2 separate regions of the Homo sapiens genome follow, and region 1 is linked to region 2. Evidence: promoter capture Hi-C in 16 types of primary human blood cells and fetal thymus (Javierre and others, 2016). All regions are on one chromosome and are shown on one strand. The core of a region is centred on a gene start or on the middle of the fragment in contact, and the rest is flanking DNA. Distances in the headings are between cores, read along the strand shown. Region 1 overlaps DTYMK (deoxythymidylate kinase). Region 2 holds the start of FARP2 (FERM, ARH/RhoGEF and pleckstrin domain protein 2).

Region 1 (3,808 bases), core at 957-3,456, 320 kb before region 2:
CTCACAAAGCACAAAGTTATTATTTTCGTGAAGTCCATCTTAATCAATTCTCTCATGGGCTGTGCCTTTGGTTTTGTATCTAAACAGTCTGCCAAACCCCAGGTGATCTAAGTTTTCTCCTGTGTTACTGTCTAGGAGTTGCATAGTTTTGCATTTTACATTTGGGTCTGTGATTCATTTTGTCTTTTTTTTCCCCCACTTTTTGTGGAGAACGGGGTCTCACTATATTGCCCAGGCAGGTCTCGAGCTCCTGGGCTCAAGCAATCCTCCTGCCTCTGCCTCCTTGAAAGCTGGGATTACAGGCGTGAGCCACCGTGCCAGGCCTGTGATTCATTTTGAATTTATGTTCGTGGAGGGTATACGGTCTGGTCTAGATTTATTCTCTTTCATGAGGATGTCCAGTTGTTCCAGCAGCGTTTATTGAGGAAAATGCCTTTGCACCATTGCATCCCTCTGCTGCTTTGTCAGAGGCCAGTTGACTCCTTATGTGGGTGCCCCTGTGATTTGAAGGCCCCAGTGAGACTGGCTGAGTCGAATGAATCGGACTTTTCTTTCTCTGTCTTGAGCAGTGCTTCTCACTAGTGTCAGGCCCCGTGTCTTTGTACATCTGTGATCTTGGCAGCTGTAGGGATGATGGTGGACTTGTGGTATTTGGCTGAGAACATCCTTGCAGTCCAGGCTAGGGGTCATGAGCATGGATGAGTCACCTGCTGGCTGTGCCCACGCTTCCCCCGCCACCATCCTCTGCTCTCTTCTTTGCCTGTGCTTTCTTCTTCCTCGACAGGGTAGAGCTGGCCTCTCTGACCAAGACAGCTGACAGTGCATCTCCTTTCCCCTGCCGTGTTTCTGGAACATTGAACTTTACCAGTTGTGTTTGTTACTATTTAGTAAGGTTATCTTCTCCATGTTGGGTTTTGCTGGAGGTGTGGGTATGGCATCTTCTAGAGAAGATCCAGACCTTTTTGGATTAAAAGTAAGGTTACAAATCACTGTGCTGTACTTGTTGTCATATGAGATTTCTGAGTTGTATTGTTGGGATAATTTTCTTTTTCTTTTTTTGAGATGGAGTCTCGCTGTGTCACCCAGGCTGGAATGCAGTGGTGTGATCTCGGCTCACTGCAACCTCCACCTCCTGGGTTCAAGCAATTCTCCTGCCTCAGCCTCCCGAGTAGCTGGGATTACAGGTGCCTGCCACCATGTCCAGCTAATATTTTGTATTAGTAGAGACAGGGTTTCACCATGTTAGCCAGGATGGTCTCGATCTCCTGACCTTGTGATCCGCCCGCCTCAGCCTCCCAAAGCGCTGGGATTATAGGGGTGAGCCACTGCGCACAGCCTGTTGGGATAATTTAAGCTTGACAGTTCAAGGCCTATGAAACAGGACCAGGGCTCAGGAGCATCCTCTTTTTCAGGCCGTTAATTAAGGAAAAGTTGAGCCAGGGCGTGACCCTCGTCGTGGACAGATACGCATTTTCTGGTGTGGCCTTCACCGGTGCCAAGGAGGTGAGTGCCACTTGGCCTCCTGTCAGGCGAGCACAGATGTGTGGACCCAGGACTGCCCTTGAATGCGAGTACGAGTGACATGCCTCAGATTACTCTGCAGAGTTTCGTGATTCTTATATTCCTTTTATCTCTTTGCTAGATTAATTTGGTTTTATCAATAAGAAGAGCAAACATTTATGTAGCTAGAGATTGTTTCACAGATAGAACCATAGTTGGTATTTGGATTATATTTTCCACACGCTTTTTTTTTTTTTTTTGGGGAGACAGTCTCTCATTCTGTCACCCAGGCTGGAGTGCAGTGGCACGATCTCAGCTCATTGCAACCTCTGCCTCCTGAGTTCAAGCGATTATCCTGCCTCAGTCTCCCGAGTATCTGGGATTATAGGCATGCACCACCGTGCCCAGCTAATTTTCATACTTTTAGTAGAGACGGGGTTTTACCATGTTGGCCAGGCTGGTCTCAAACTCCTGACCTCAAGTGATCCACTCATCTCAGCCTCCCAAAGTGCTAGGATTACAGGCATGAGCCACTGCACCCAGCCTCCAGATGCATTTTCAAAGATGGTTCATTTGTAGTACTTTTTTCCCCCGTTTTTTGAAAGAGGGCGTCTCCCTCTGTTGCCCAGGCTGGAGTACAGTGGAACAAGCAAAGCTCGCTATAACAACTCTTGGGCCCAAGTGATCCTCCCGCTTCAGCCTCCCAAAGTGCTGGGATTACAGGCGCGAGCCACCGTGCCCGGCCACGCCCTCACTTTTTAATTCTGCCATTTCTTCATGTGTTAGCTTGAGTCCTTCCCCTCTGAAGTATTACGTTGTATAATAAGGAGGACAAGACTCATGATTCCTTTGCTTCTTCCTGCTGTGCGGATCAGCTGACAGAGCCGCAGGCTCTGTGGGAGGTTCTCGTGGACGCCTTCCCTCAGCTCATTGTGCTGTTGTGTGATGTGTGGCCTGCAGTCACAGCCTTTCTGGTCCTACCTTTCCTCCGGAAACAGGACAGCATTTGGAGGGAGATGGGATGAGTAAGGGAGGGAGAGAGGGTGCTGGCACAGCCCTGGCAAGAAGGGCCAGTGGATGAGACTAGGCTGGCACATAACAGGCTCTAGGAGTGCCTGTCTTCTTCCTGCTCTTCCACGGGAGAGGAGACCCTGGCGTGTGTGTGGCAGAAAAGACACTGCCAAGGACCTCGTGCCTGTGTCCGGACCCAGCTGCTCTGTGCTGCAGGCGTTCTAGGCCGGGGGTCTCCAGGGGTTCTGTACATAGACTGTTTGCTCCTGGCCAGCAGGCCTGTAGCTGTGCTGGGAGGGCCTCCATGGGGCCTGGGCTGTGGGTGGCGGGGACTGGCAGCCGTTCTATCTACCTACTTTTCTGTCCACTTGTCTGTTTACAAAGGAAAAACAAAGGTGACACTGGAGAAACCGACACGTTTGAGGTTCTAAAAATTAAACGAGCCACAATATAAACAGTCTCACATCTTGGTACCTCACCAAATGTCCCCTCATTTTTTCCTGTTTTTACGACTTTCGAAACAAAAACCTAGACTACACTAAGCTTTAACTGTTGGGTTCTTTCTTGGCAGAATTTTTCCCTAGATTGGTGTAAACAGCCAGACGTGGGCCTTCCCAAACCCGACCTGGTCCTGTTCCTCCAGTTACAGCTGGCGGATGCTGCCAAGCGGGGAGCGTTTGGCCATGAGCGCTATGAGAACGGGGCTTTCCAGGAGCGGGCGCTCCGGTGTTTCCACCAGCTCATGAAAGACACGACTTTGAACTGGAAGGTGAGAATCCCAGAATTGCACACTAGGAAGCGTGGAGAAGTGGCTCAGGATGACACCGTGGTGGCTGGCACAGTTGTGTCAGCAAAGCTGCTGCCGTTTCCGTCTGGTCCTCCCAGATGTGGAGCCCCGGGAGTAGTCGTTCAGGGGTTCTCGGTGCCAGCAAATTCTTTTTTTTTTGAGACAGAATCTTGCTCTGGGTGCCAACCCAGGCTGGAGTGCAATGGCACGATCTCAGCTCACTGCAACCTCCGCTTCTTGGGTTCAAGTGATTCTCCTGCCTCAGCCTCCCGAGTAGCTGGGATTACAGGCACGTGCCATCATGCCTGGCTAATTTTTTTTGTAGAGATGGGGTTTCTCCACGTTGGTCAGGCTGGTCTCCAACTCCTGACCTCAGGTGATCTGCCCACCTCGGCCTCCCAAAGTGCTGGGATTATAGGCATGAGCCATCGCGCCCGGCCAGTGCCAGCAAATTCTAACCCGATGAGTTTTGCTAAATGTTGACATTTGGCGCTTTGTCTGGTGGGTCAG
Region 2 (4,138 bases), core at 1,639-4,138:
CTGTTCACCTCCTCATGTATTTTTACAACACTATGATTGCTGTGTACACACCATTTCAACTTTTCAGTTAAGTCACATTTTAAAGCATATTTCCATGGATCAAAATGGTTCAAATTTTCCTTGGATGGGAGGATGGGATTCAGCTTGTGGAAGCATGTTTACTTGCTATGGAGTACTCTACCCTACTGACACAACAAAGTTTATCAGATTGTTTTGAAAAGTGTGATTCCAAAATCAAAATCTTTGCCACATACTGCTACTTTCCAAAAAGATTAGACCAATTTATAGAATCACTGTCAACTAAACGCTCCCCAGAAAATCACCAAAGACTGGGCTTTATCATATTGCTTTGTAGGATCCTCAACTTTTCAACTCCCTGTGGCATTGACAAATACGCTATGGTCAAAGGACTCTATATTCTGATCTCAGAGAACATGACCGGAATTACCTCAGCTCAGTATCCAACACTACAATGGGGTTTTGCCTGTATATCTAGCACTATGCTGTGTTTATGAAGCTCATGACGCACTGAGTAAAGGGGAAGCTGGCAAGCTGATATGAAAGTGGGTGAAGGAAAAATAAGAACAAAACTGAAAGGACAAGCAGCAGTAAGAAAAATCTGTTACTGTCCGAATATAGAAGAGGTATTGATGTGACTAGAAGCAGGGGTGTTTGGAAAGGAAGGAAGCAACTGAATTCTTTGGGCCAAATGGATTTAAATGAGCTCACATGGAATTGCCCATGCATTGATCTTTGCTTTGGCAATCCAGTTCATACCATTCCCTCTAAACAGGATAAATTTGCTTAATTATTGCCTAATTTTTTCTCTACTGTTTTTTGTAAATATCCAGGGTTAGCTTGTTCTACTTTCTACTCGGATTATTTGTCCACCTGATAATAATAATGGCTAACATTTATTAAGCACTTACCTTGTGCCAGGCATCTTGTTAACACAGCTTTTTTTATTTATTTTTTTATTTTTTTGAGACAGAGTCTCGCTCTGTCGCCCAGGATGAAGTGCAGTGGCACAATCTTGGCTCAATGCAACCTCCACCTCCTGGGTTCAAGTGATTCTCGTGCCTCAGCCTCTCAAGTAGCTATGATTACAGGCGTGCGCCACCAGCCCAGCTAATTTTTGTATTTTTAGTAGAGATGGGGTTTCGCCCTGTTGAGCAGGCTGGTCTGGAACCCCTGAGCTCATGCAATCTGCCTGCCTCGGCCTCCCAAAGTGCTGGGATTACAGCCACTGTGCCTGGCCAAGTAAATTTTAAACTCATTTTTTGAATAAGGAACCTGAGGCAGAGAGAAATGAATACACCTTATATCAACTTCCTCTTTGGGAAAGGAATTAGTATACAAGGAACCTGGAAATTTACTAACGACTGATAGTCCTATAGGTAAATAAGCCAGCAAACGTCTGCAGTCCAGGAAACTGCATCATCAGCATTTAGTTTGTTAACAGTGAACCACCTAATGAGAATCTGCAACAAGGATAGGGCACATGAGAAGTACAGATGGTATTTGCAAGTACCCTAGGTGTGACCCTAAACTGGTCATTCCACCTCTCTCAACCTCCCTTTCCTCTACTTTAAAACGGGGCTGTGCAACTTGGTCATGTCTCTGAAGAGTTTTGGAAAACTGAATAAATAACGAGCATGAAGTGCTTCCTAAACCTTTAAGGACCTCAAAAAACAAAACAAAACAAAACTTTCAACAAGCAGATGTAGAAAATTTAAATTATATTTGGCCTACAAGTAAAGGTTACTCCATGCTTCCCTACCTCAAATGTCCTCTCCCATCTCTCTGGTACTGAGAAAATCTGTGTCGCCTGTTATAAGGCAGTCTACACAAGACCAACACGCTAACCCACTGCCACCTCAGGGTTATCAAACATTTACACAGTGGCCCAGACAAAAATATCCCACGGAAACAAAACAAAAACAAAAACCCAGAGAGAAAAACCACCCTTTAAAGATTTGGCCTTGGGTTTTAAATTTGCCCATCCCTTTTTAACACTATGTATTGACAATCTTTCCTTCAATGATGCCTTGTTCTAATTTCTGCTTTTCACATCCATTAATGGCACATGATAGGCCAGGGGTTGCTGCCATAGCGTAAACGGAAAAGGTGCCCGTAATTCGGGTGTGTAATGTACTGGGCCATATTCTGGTCCCCAGTTTTCATGGGTTTCCCAAAGGCTACCCACTGGCTTATGAGTATTTCTAGCCCTTAGTGGAGTAAAAATATTAACACCTAACACTTGATTCCCACCTTTAAGATACAATTTAAAGAAATGCTAAAAAGGCAAACGGCTCAAAATGCCTCCACCAGGCACCTCCAGGCCCATACCCTGCGGGTCCCTATGGCCCACTCTGGGGTGTCCTTCCGGGATGGGACACTCCCCGGCCCACGGCCCTGCCGGCCTCCACGGGGCACAACTCAACCCGCGAGTCCACGCGGGACACTCCCCGGTCTACAGCCCCACCGGCCTCCTCCACGCGGCACCCCTCAACCCGGGAGTCCACGCGGGCCACTCCCCGGCCCACCGCCCCGCCTGCCCCCACGCGGCAGGCTCCCTACAGACGGACGCTCCTCTAACCCGGACCCGCCTAGGAGCTCCAGCCGCCTCACGATGGCCTTCAGAGGCCGGGCGGGACCATCTCTGGTGGACCGCGGCCTCAGCGCCCCCCCCGCCTGGGCCTCTCGCCTCGGGCCTCGGGCTTCGCCGCCCACCCGGAGAGGCCCACCCCTGCCCCACGCGCCCAGGCCGCTTCACGTCCTCACCCTCGGCCTCTCGCTCGCCCGCCGCGTCCTCACCGGCCTCGCCCGGCCTCCGCAGTCGCAAGCAGCAGCCGCCAGACTCGCGTCGGCGTCGCCTGCTCCCAACTGCCCGCCGGCAGCCCCCGCGCAGCGCGCCCCGCCCTGACCCCGCCCCCGCGACGCGGACGCGCAGTCGATTGGCCTGCGGGGCGCCAGGGCGGAGCCTTCCCGTCCCGCGGCCTGAAAGCGCAAGATCGAGTTCTGATTGGTGAACGGACGGAGAAGGGGCGGGAGCAGGCAGGCAGCTGCGTAGGATATAAATCTGTGCAGCGCTCGGCTCGTTGGGCGGGGCGTCGGCTTGCTGAGCGAGGCAATGTCCTAGGCGAAGCCAAGGCTCGCTGGGCGGGGCTAGATCTTGGGCGGGGAGTCGGCTCGTTGGGTGGGGCTAGGTCCTGGGCGGGGAGTCGGCTCGCTGGGCGGGGCTAGGTCCTGGGCGGGGAGTCGGCTCGCTGGGCGGGGCTAGGTCCTGGGCGGGGAGTCGGCTCGCTGGGCGGGGCTAGGTCCTGGGCGGGGAGTCGGCTCGCTGGGCGGGGCTAGGTCCTGGGCGGGGAGTCGGCTCGCTGGGCGGGGCTAGGTCCTGGGCGGGGAGTCGGCTCGCTGGGCGGGGCTAGGTCCTGGGCGGGGAGTCGGCTCGCTGGGCGGGGCTAGGTCCTGGGCGGGGAGTCGGCTCGCTGGGCGGGGCTAGGTCCTGGGCGGGGAGTCGGCTCGCTGGGCGGGGCTAGGTCCTGGGCGGGGAGTCGGCTCGCTGGGCGGGGCTAGGTCTTGGGCGAGGTCTAGGCTCGCTGGGCGCGGATAGGTGCTGGGCGAGGCCTAGGCTTGCTGGGCGCGGATAGGTGCTGGGCGAGGCCTAGGCTTGCTGGGCGCGGATAGGTGCTGGGCGAGGCCTGGCTCGCTGGGCGGGGATAGGTCTTGGCCCGGGCCTTGCCGGCTGTCCTTGCACCCTTTGGCTCAGTCCCTGGCTGCCAGCCTCCTCCTTCCTCCAACGCATTGCATCCCTCGTGGGACTACAGGGACCGAAGGGGATCATCGAAGGATCGCGCGAGGCTGTGCTAAGGCTGAGACAGGCTGCTCCGTGGTGGCGGCCAGGACGGCCTTCCTCTGGCCTAGGGACCCCCACCCGAGAATGGAAGACTGACTTGCTGTGGCACACTTCCCTTCTCTTGAGAAGTTCATTGAACTCCTATGTGTTCTTCAAGACCCTACCCATCGTGCTCTCCTAGCCCGGCCCTGTCACCCACTGTCACCATGTGGCTGTTGAGGGAATAATTAACTTCAGGAAACACCCGGGCACTTAAGAGACTCCTCCTATGGTGCTGTG

Evidence for each region. The method cuts DNA at HindIII sites, captures the fragments that hold promoters and counts their contacts. A CHiCAGO score of 5 or more calls a contact.
Region 1: a contact is called between a fragment that was not itself captured here and the fragment with the promoter of FARP2 in region 2, in 1 of 17 cell types (neutrophils). The highest score is 6.7, in neutrophils.

The regions. Positions count from the first base shown.
Region 1 is chr2:241,677,924-241,681,731 of GRCh38, reverse strand. It overlaps DTYMK (deoxythymidylate kinase), which reads left to right. Exons shown (of 5, transcript NM_012145.4): 3 at 1,413-1,503; 4 at 3,083-3,280. Among named protein-coding and RNA genes, the nearest start is that of DTYMK, 7.0 kb to the left of the region's middle. The HindIII fragment of the contact is 1,700 bases long and covers 1,357-3,056 here.
Region 2 is chr2:241,355,035-241,359,172 of GRCh38, reverse strand. It overlaps FARP2 (FERM, ARH/RhoGEF and pleckstrin domain protein 2), which reads right to left and starts at 2,888. Exons shown (of 27, transcript NM_014808.4): 1 at 2,785-2,888. RefSeq lists a silencer at 2,551-3,100. The HindIII fragment of the contact is 16,715 bases long and covers 1-4,138 here.